Regions from separate parts of the Homo sapiens genome. Here region 1 is linked to region 2. The links are contacts of gene promoters, found by promoter capture Hi-C in blood cells and fetal thymus (Javierre and others, 2016). All regions are on one chromosome and are shown on one strand. The core of a region is centred on a gene start or on the middle of the fragment in contact, and the rest is flanking DNA. Distances in the headings are between cores, read along the strand shown. Region 1 holds the start of GNG14 (G protein subunit gamma 14). Region 2 holds the start of MAST1 (microtubule associated serine/threonine kinase 1).

Evidence for each region. The method cuts DNA at HindIII sites, captures the fragments that hold promoters and counts their contacts. A CHiCAGO score of 5 or more calls a contact.
Region 1: a fragment that was not itself captured here is called in contact with the fragment with the promoter of MAST1 in region 2 in 3 of 17 cell types (erythroblasts, megakaryocytes and monocytes); the score reaches 8.1 in erythroblasts.

What each region holds. Positions count from the first base shown.
Region 1 is chr19:12,685,608-12,690,129 of GRCh38, forward strand. It overlaps GNG14 (G protein subunit gamma 14), which reads left to right and starts at 2,391. Exons shown (of 1, transcript NM_001316692.2): 1 at 2,391-2,815. The coding sequence starts at 2,442. The coding sequence ends at 2,765. FBXW9 (F-box and WD repeat domain containing 9) reads right to left here. Exons shown (of 10, transcript NM_032301.3): 6 at 4,355-4,503; 7 at 4,154-4,267; 8 at 3,934-4,023; 9 at 3,765-3,830; 10 at 3,309-3,683. The coding sequence ends at 3,609. The HindIII fragment of the contact is 4,836 bases long and covers 480-4,522 here.
Region 2 is chr19:12,836,817-12,840,781 of GRCh38, forward strand. MAST1 (microtubule associated serine/threonine kinase 1) reads left to right here and starts at 1,699. Exons shown (of 26, transcript NM_014975.3): 1 at 1,699-1,839; 2 at 3,630-3,718. The coding sequence starts at 1,757. RefSeq lists silencers at 1,312-1,495, 1,500-1,679, 1,730-1,779 and an enhancer at 3,686-3,745. The HindIII fragment of the contact is 9,607 bases long and covers 650-3,965 here.

The DNA of each region.
Region 1 (4,522 bases), core at 1,648-4,147, 150 kb before region 2:
TGGAGTGTAGTGGTGTGATTTCGGCTCACTACAAGCTCCACCTCCCGGGTTCACGCCAGTCTCCTGCCTCAGCCTCCCAAGTAGCTGGGACTACAGGCGCCCGCCACACGCCCAGCTAATTTTTTGTATTTTTAGTAGAGACGGGGTTTCACCATGTTAGCCAGGATGGTCTTGATCTCCTGACCTCGTGATCCGCCCACCTCAGCCTCCCAAAGTGCTGGGATTACAGGCATGAGCCACCGTGCCCAGCCGCTGAGCTTTTTTTTTTGATGCAGGGTCTCACTCTGTCACCAGGGCTGGAGTGCAGTGGGACAATCACACCTCACTGCAGCTTCGACCTCCTGGCCTCAAGTGATCCTCCCACTTCAGCCTCCCCAGTAGCTGGGACTACAGGTGCATGCCACAGCTCTTTAACCATAAATCAAACATGTCACTGTTAAAACCTCCTAATGGTAGCTTCCCCCTGGGAGTAAAATCCAAGCTTTTCACAGTGGCCTTAAAGGGCACCTCTCAACCTCCCTGCTGCCATCTCCCACCATGCTGGCCCTCCCTCCCTCTCTCCTCTCCAGCTACACAGACCTCTTTGCTATTCCTGGAACCCACCAAGCTCTTTTTTGTCCAAGGAGTCAGGTACTTGCCGCTCCTTCTGCCTAGAACACCCCATTTCTCAGTTCCTTCTCCTCCTTTGGGCCTAAGTTCAAATGTCACCTCCTCTGAGAGGCCTGCCCTGACCACTCCTCTCCCCTTTACTTTGATTTTATTCTTCTTTCATATGCCCTTTCACATGTATACTCTTTCACTGAGTACATTTTCTGTTGTCCATCCCTGCCTAACTAGAAAGGCAGCTCCATGAGGGCAAGGTTTTGTCTTGTTTCATTGCTAATTTGGGTTTTTGCACAGTGCTGGGCACATATTAGAATCTCGGGGCAGGGCTCAGTGGCTTATGCCTATAATTCCTTTGGAAGGCCAAGGCAAGAGGATCGTTTGAGGCCAGGAGTTCAAGACCAGCCTGGGCAACATAGTAAGAACCATCTCTACAAAAAGTTAAAAACATAAATTAGCAGGGCACGGTGGCTCACGCCTATAATTCTAGCTAATCAGGAGGCTGAGTTGAGAGGATCACTTGAGCCCAGGAGTTTGAAGTTACAGTGAGCTATGATTGTACCACTGCACTCCAGCCTGGACGACAGAGCGAGAACCTGGGCTTAAAAAAAGAAAAGAAGGCCAGGCACGATGGCTCACACCTGTAATCCCAGCACTTTGGGAGGCCGAAGCAGGTGGATCACTTGAGGTCAGGAGTTCGAGACCAGCCTGGCCAACATGGTGAAACCCCTTCTCTACTAAAAATACAAAAATTAGCCAGGTGTGGCCGGGCGCAGTGGCTCATGCCTGTAATCCCAGCACTTTGGGAGGCTGAGGCAAGTGGATCACCTGAGATCAGGAGTTCAAGACCAGCCTGACCAACATGGTGAAACCTCATCTCTACTAAAAATACAAAAAATTAGCCGAGCATGGTGGCACATGCCTGTAATCCCAGCTACTCGAGAGGCTGAGGCAGAAGAATCGCTTGAACCCAGAAGGCGGAGGTTGCAGTGAGCCGAAATCACGCTATTGCACTCTAGCCTGGGCAACAAGAGCGAAATACCATCTCAAAAAAAAAAAAAAAAAAAAAATTAGCCGGGTGTGGTAGCATACGCCTGTAATCCCAGCTACTCAGGAGGCTGAGGCAGGAGAATCACTTGAGCCCGGGAGGTGGAGGTTGAAAGTGAGCTGAGATCGCACCACTGCACTCCAACATGGGTGATAGAGCAAGACTCTCTCTCAAAAAAAAAAAAAAAAAAAAAAAAAAGAACGAAGGCATTGGAGATTTGAGCCTGAGCAGTGGCGACAACAGGAGGAGAGGCAAGGCTGCATGTTGGAGATGGCAGAGGCTGACAAAGCAGATGTGTTGGGAACAGTTAGCAGGAGATCCAGCAGGCCAGGGGGAGGCCAGGGCCTCCTCACTCCCCCAGCCAAGGCACCTAGCCCACAGGGACCCAGGTGACACATGACACCAGAGGAGCCACAGGGCCTCCTGGGGCAGGGACCCCCTCAGCCGAGGCAGCAGCTGCTGCTGCAGCTGGTGACATTTCACTCCATGAGAGCCCTGGCTTCAAAGTCTTTGCAGGGGTAGCCGAGGGAGAAAAGGGGGTTGAAGAGGACAGGCTGGGTTGGGGAGGGAGCCACAGCAGGGTGGCCACCAGAGGACCAGGCAGCCAGAGGTGACTTGGGCCGGAGCCCTTAGCCGAGGTGTGTGGGCCTGATGGGTCCAGGAGCAGCCACCCTCATCCTGCAGCCCCCAAGGAACATAGAAGGAGGTGTGGGAACCCTCGGGCAGCCCTAGGCTCCCCCTAGGGGACTGAGGTTGGGCCTGCTGCCCACGGCCTGCCCACTTTACCCAGATGTCCAGCAAGGTGGCCATCAACAGTGACATTGGGCAGGCCCTCTGGGCAGTGGAGCAGCTCCAGATGGAGGCAGGCATCGACCAAGTGAAGGTGAGGGTCGGGGCCAGTGCAGGAGGCGGGAAGAGGTGGGAACACATGGGCCAGGGGACAGGTGCATGCCTGGGTCTGGTCTGGCTGAACCAGTTGGTCTGCAGGTGTCCAAAGATGGCCGCCGATCTGCTGAAGTTCTGCACGGAGCAGGCCAAGAATGACCCCTTCCTTGTGGGCATCCCGGCCGCCACCAACTCCTTCAAGGAGAAGAAGCCCTATGCCATCCTATGAACCCAGGGCAATGCCACCCTGTGGCCTGGGCAAACCAGGGGGCCTCAATAAACATGAAGTGAATACTTCTCAGGGCATGGCTGAGCTGGGCTGAGATGGGAGACCAGAGGGACTTTGGGCTTGCAGGGGCCAGGTGCGTACCTGGCCCAGCCTCCCTCCCTGCCTGCCCCCGGGGTCACAGCCACAGCAGCACACACACACCCTGGAGCCCCAGACGGAGAGCACGCCATCCCTCTTGCCCTCGCCAGCACCCATGGGATAGCCTGAGCAGGTACCCTTTCCCACCGTGCAGACAAATGGCCAGGATTTGAGTCATAATCTATACACCACACGCGTCACACATCACACACACACGTGACATCATAGACACAGATGCCCACGATCCTCAGGACTCTCCCTCTTCAAATGCACAGCAACAGCTGACATGCACCCCCAGCCCAGACTTGCTATCTCTCCCAGTCACTCCCATGCAGGCCCGCAGCCCCACAGCCCCAAGCAGGCACAGGCAGAACCCCAGCAGGCAAACCACACTCACACTCCAGGCCCAAGCACCAACATGTCAGGTTTATTTCTCCTTCGCTCTCAACTGAGAGCGGGGCATCCAAATCATAACAAAACCAGGGCCCAAGAGTGGGAAGCGGCCCCCTGGGTGGGCCTGAACCCCAATTTCACCCTTCCCCCGGGCATAGGGCCCAGGCCAGGACGCTCACCCGAATGTGGCTGGGACTCCTTGTGCCCTAGGCCCACGGGGCGGAGGCAGCACCAACATTGGGGATGGTCCCCCAAGAACAGAGGAGGAAGCCCAGCCTCCGGCAGGCAGTATCCACATCCACGCCCACCTGCTCAGGCCTGCAGCCTCCAGACCTCTAGCGACAGGTCTCCAGAGCCGGCCACCACCAGGTTGCCCTCAGCACAGACCTGGGAAGGGGGAGGAACATGAGGAGTCAGGGACGATGGCGCTCTGGCCAGCTGGGCAGGGCACATGGGGCAGGACCTTACCCTATTGAGCCCATTGTCATGCCTTCGGGTGCAAATGGTCCTTGGTGGGTCTGTGGGCACGTGCACCTAGTGAGGGGCAATGGGCGAGGTCAAGAGGTGTGCCCCTGGCTGATGGAGGTAGGGGAGAGGCAGGGACTGTCCTGGGGTGGGGGCTGGGCAGGAGCCTCACCCGGATGGTCTTGTCAGTGGATGTGGTGTACAAGGCTCCCACGGAGTACTGGATCCCAGTGATGGGAAAGCTGTGGCCCACATCAAAGGACTGCAGGAGGAGGATCAGGCAACACTCAGTCGAGGCTCTCCCAAGGCCCGCCCTCCCCCACACCACCAGGGGCTCGGGTAGGAAGGAAGCCCGGGGGGAGGGACAGTCAGGGGCAGGAGCTCCAGCAGACCCGGATAAGCTGGAAGCAGCCGTTGCGGTTGGCGAAGACGTGCAGCAGGCCCTGGTTGTCACCAGCCCAGAGCTGGGGTTCCTGGTAGGACATGCAGAGCAGGTAGGAGTCCAGCTACGAGAGGGACAAGGGACGGGACAGCTCAGGCCGGGCTGGGCCTGCAACAGTCCCCATCCCTCCAGGCCCCTGGGGAGGGCCCACCTGCAGACGCTGCAGGACGCTGTTGGCTCGGCGGTCCACCACCACCAGGGTGTGGTCCTCGCTGCCTGAGATGATGTGCCGGTCATCCGCCAGCAGGGTCAGCACGGGTCTGGAGTGTAGTTGCTGGTGCTTCAACAGGGCTGGGCCGGCTTCATGGGTGATGGGCCG
Region 2 (3,965 bases), core at 449-2,948:
ACATCCCTCATTTTCCTTTTGTTGGAGTCCCCTCCAAAGGCCTTTTGAAACTCTCCCCCAAATCTTTCCACCTGCAGCCCCACTCAGTTTCCTTCCTTCCACCTCACCCTGTGGATAGAAAACTGGCTGGCAGGTGTTGCCCCTTGTACCCCATTCCTTTCCTCAGAAAAAAGCCAAGACCCCATATCTCCTGATCCCTACAGTGACTTCCTAAGAGCTTGACAAATGGAAGGTGACCTTCTTCAAATGCAGACACATAAAGTTAATACTCACTAATTATTATTATTGTCATTATAAAAAATGACTATGCGGCCATCACCTGAATTTCCATTTTTATTTTTTTATTTTTTAAACTTTTTATTATTTATTTATTTATTGTTAATTGAGAGGGTGTCTTACTCCAGCAGTGGTGCAATCATAGTTCACTATAACCTCGACCTCCTGAGCTCAAGAGATTCTCCCACCTCAGCCTCCGTGGTTCCCATTTTAAATCTCAGTTGTGAGTCACTCTACTTACCTACCCCCCACCCCCTACCCCAACTCTATGACTCTAGCTGGGAGTCAGATAGATCTGCTGAGGTGTAGATGAGTCATTCATTCTTTCAACCTTTCATTCATTCAACCTTTCATTCATTCATTGAGTACGCTAAGCTTATTCCCGCCTCCAGGCCTTTGCCCTTGCAGTTCCCTCCACCTGGAATGCTCTCTCCACAGATCCTCCCATGGCTGGCTCTTATCTTTCAGCAACCAGCTTAAAAGTCACCTCCACAGAGCAGCCCTGTCTGACAATGTGTCTCCATCCTAGCCATTGTCCATCACATCACCCTGTTTAATTTATTCATAAGACTAATTATTGTCTAAAATGATTTCGTTCACTTCTACACTAATCTTGTTTAATGTCCCCTTTACCCTATAAATACTAGTCCCAAAAGGCCAGAAACTTTTTTTTTTTTCTCCTTGAGACAGAGAGTCTTGCTGTGTTGCCCACGCTGGTGTTTCCTTGGACTCAAGCGATTCTCCTGCCTCAACCTCCCAAGTAGCTGGGACTAGAGGTGCACACCACCACACCGGACTTGTAATTTATTCACTACTGTGTCCCTAGTGCCTAGGATTGGGTCAGCATACAGTAGGTGCTCAAGACATATTTTTCAAATAATGATTCCTATTTCATTTGCACAAACACACGCTGATATGCCAACTCACTTGCCTTTATATGGCGCCCCGCCTGTGTACGTGGGCCTCTGTTGGTCTCTGAGGGTCAGGAGAGGAATCACCCAGGGATCCTCTCCCCCAAGAAACTTGGCCCGCAGTGCATGGCCAAGGGTGAAAGTGACAGTGCTGAAGAGGGGCCTGTCTTACCCTGCTTCTGCTCCTCCAGGGAGTTGATAATGCTTGTGGGCAGCAACGGCAGGTCCACGCTGACCTTCATCGTTTTGCCCCTTTGCCTTCCAGAAGGATTTGCCCCTGCCCCGGAAAAGCAGCAGGTGAGCCTGGGGAGAGACGTGGCGGGGGCTGGCCGCCCCTTCTCCCGCCGGGGTGGGGGCGCCAGGCGAGTGCGCGGGCGGGGCCTGGCTCGCCGGCACGCAGCAGCGCCCCCTCCCGGCCGGCTGCAGCCGCAGGGCCCTCCCCTTCCCTGCCCTCCCCTGCCCGCTGCGGCGGCTGCAGCCTCCGCCCCGCGCGCTTGCTCCCCGCGCCGCCGCCGCCGCCGCCTCCGCCGCTGCTGCCGCACCTGCCACCATGTCGCCGCCGCCGGGTCATGTCTGACTCTCTCTGGACCGCGCTTTCTAATTTCTCGATGCCCTCCTTCCCCGGCGGCAGTATGTTCCGCCGCACCAAGAGGTAGACCCCCGATCCCCTAGACATTGTCCCGGCCCTCCCCGCAAAAGCCGCCGCTCCGGGTACTGCTGCAGGGCGGGGCCCGGGATGCTGCGCCCGGTCCAGCTGCGCCAGAGGTGCCCCAGCTGCGCCTTCCCGCCGGGGTTGGGGTTGAATGGGGGGTGGTGTGGGCCGAGTCTGGGGGGCTTGCACGCTGGAGAGGACGGCCGCGGGGGGAGGGGGCTGCGCCACTGGGGGTTTGTGGCGCCTTTGTCTGCTGGCGCTGCGGGCTCCAACAGCCTGGTGGGGGTAGAGGAAGAAGGGGAGGCTGGGGGGCTTGGCACCCTCAGAACAATAGCCGCAGCCTGGCCTCCCCCCACCCCCATGCCGCGTGCTCCTGGACGCGCTAATATGCTCAGTCACTGCGGCTGTGGGTGAGGGGACGGACGGAGGGGCTTGGGGCTCCCTCTTCGGGAGCTGGATGCTGAGGGGTAGAAAAAAGGGGGGGTTTATCATAACACAACCCCCCCCCCCGAACACAGCCTTACACTGAAAATAGTGACACACAGCGTCACACAGGACATGATGTCACACACATACACACAACAGCCCTAGTGGCCCAGATACACTGGGAGGTGCCACACATACCTAGCCTTGCAGCTGCCACAGGTCAGAACCATGCACAGACACACAGGGGCACCACGTCGTGTACACCTAGTAAGATGTCACTTACATGGCGATCCACACACACACAGTTATGTCATCCAAGATGCAAACATGTGTTTCAATATCCCATCCATGCATCCAAGAATGTCACAACACACGATGTCATATCTAGGTATCTCACATACTATGTCACACTGACATCAGGATAAACAGATGTAGGGATCTTGCAGAGACAGAACCACGCAAAATCACATGTTATCACATTGCAAGACTCACCTAGAGAATGTCAAATGTGGTGACATGTTTGGACACAGTGTCACAAGATGTTAAATTCACACAATAGATGCTACATACACATGGACAAGCATGGTGAATGTCACACCCAGACGGAAGGACAGTATCGGACACAGACTCAGAATGCCACACAAAGACATAGATACATGTAGGGGGGATCATGCATCCTGGCCAGGCATGGTGGCAGGCACCTGTAGTCCCAGCTACTCAGGAGGGTGAGGTGAGGCGGGAGGATTGCTTGAGCCCAGGAGTTTGAGGCTGCAGTGAGCCACTGCACACTGCACTCCAGCCGGGCGACAGAGCGAGACATTGATTTAAAAGAAAAAAAATAATAATAATACAACCTGCCTGTGTTACAGCACACATTGTTATGGACAAGTGGCATTTCACACTGTGTCACATAGACACACAAATGCTCAAATTGTATCACACAAGATAAACCCACGTTGTGTCACACGTATCACACTAGAATGCATTCAGCGTCACACATTGTTGAATTCATACAGTGGATACCACACGTGGATACCTACAGTGAATGTCACGCATAGACTGAGACACGCTCAGTATCACCAATGGTGTCACCTAGACACAGTGACTATCACACCATGACAGACACTGCCCTACACATAATCCATACTGAGAGTTTCTCACACACATGTCATATGCACATCCCCTGCCGTACACAGTCCTGCCGAGGCCTGCACCACCTTTCTTCGAGAAACCCTCCCAGGGAGCCTCCAAACACACATGGATGGGAGATAGGCGGGGATCTGAGACAGGAGGTCAGCTGGTGGGGCTCAAGAACTCACTGGGCTGCGGCCCGGCCCGGCCCCCCTGCCTTACCTTCCCCGCAGCTGCCGCACCAGTAATCGGAAAAGCCTCATCCTGACCAGCACTTCACCCACGCTACCGAGACCCCACTCCCCGCTGCCAGGTCACCTAGGTGAGGCCAGTGGTAGAGACTTGGTGGGTGCAGACTGGCCTACAGTAGGCGGGGCCTCAGGCGAGGAAGCGTGGTCATGCTACAGAAGGGGCGCAGTTTGAATGGAGGCGAACCAGTTTGGATAAGGGGCGGGGCCATGCTTGTGTGGGTGTGGTCAGTCGCAGAGGGACGGTCATTGGGGGGCGGAGACTCAGGTGGGCGGAGACTCAGGTGGGACGGACAGAAAGGAGGAGTCGTACCTGAGGGG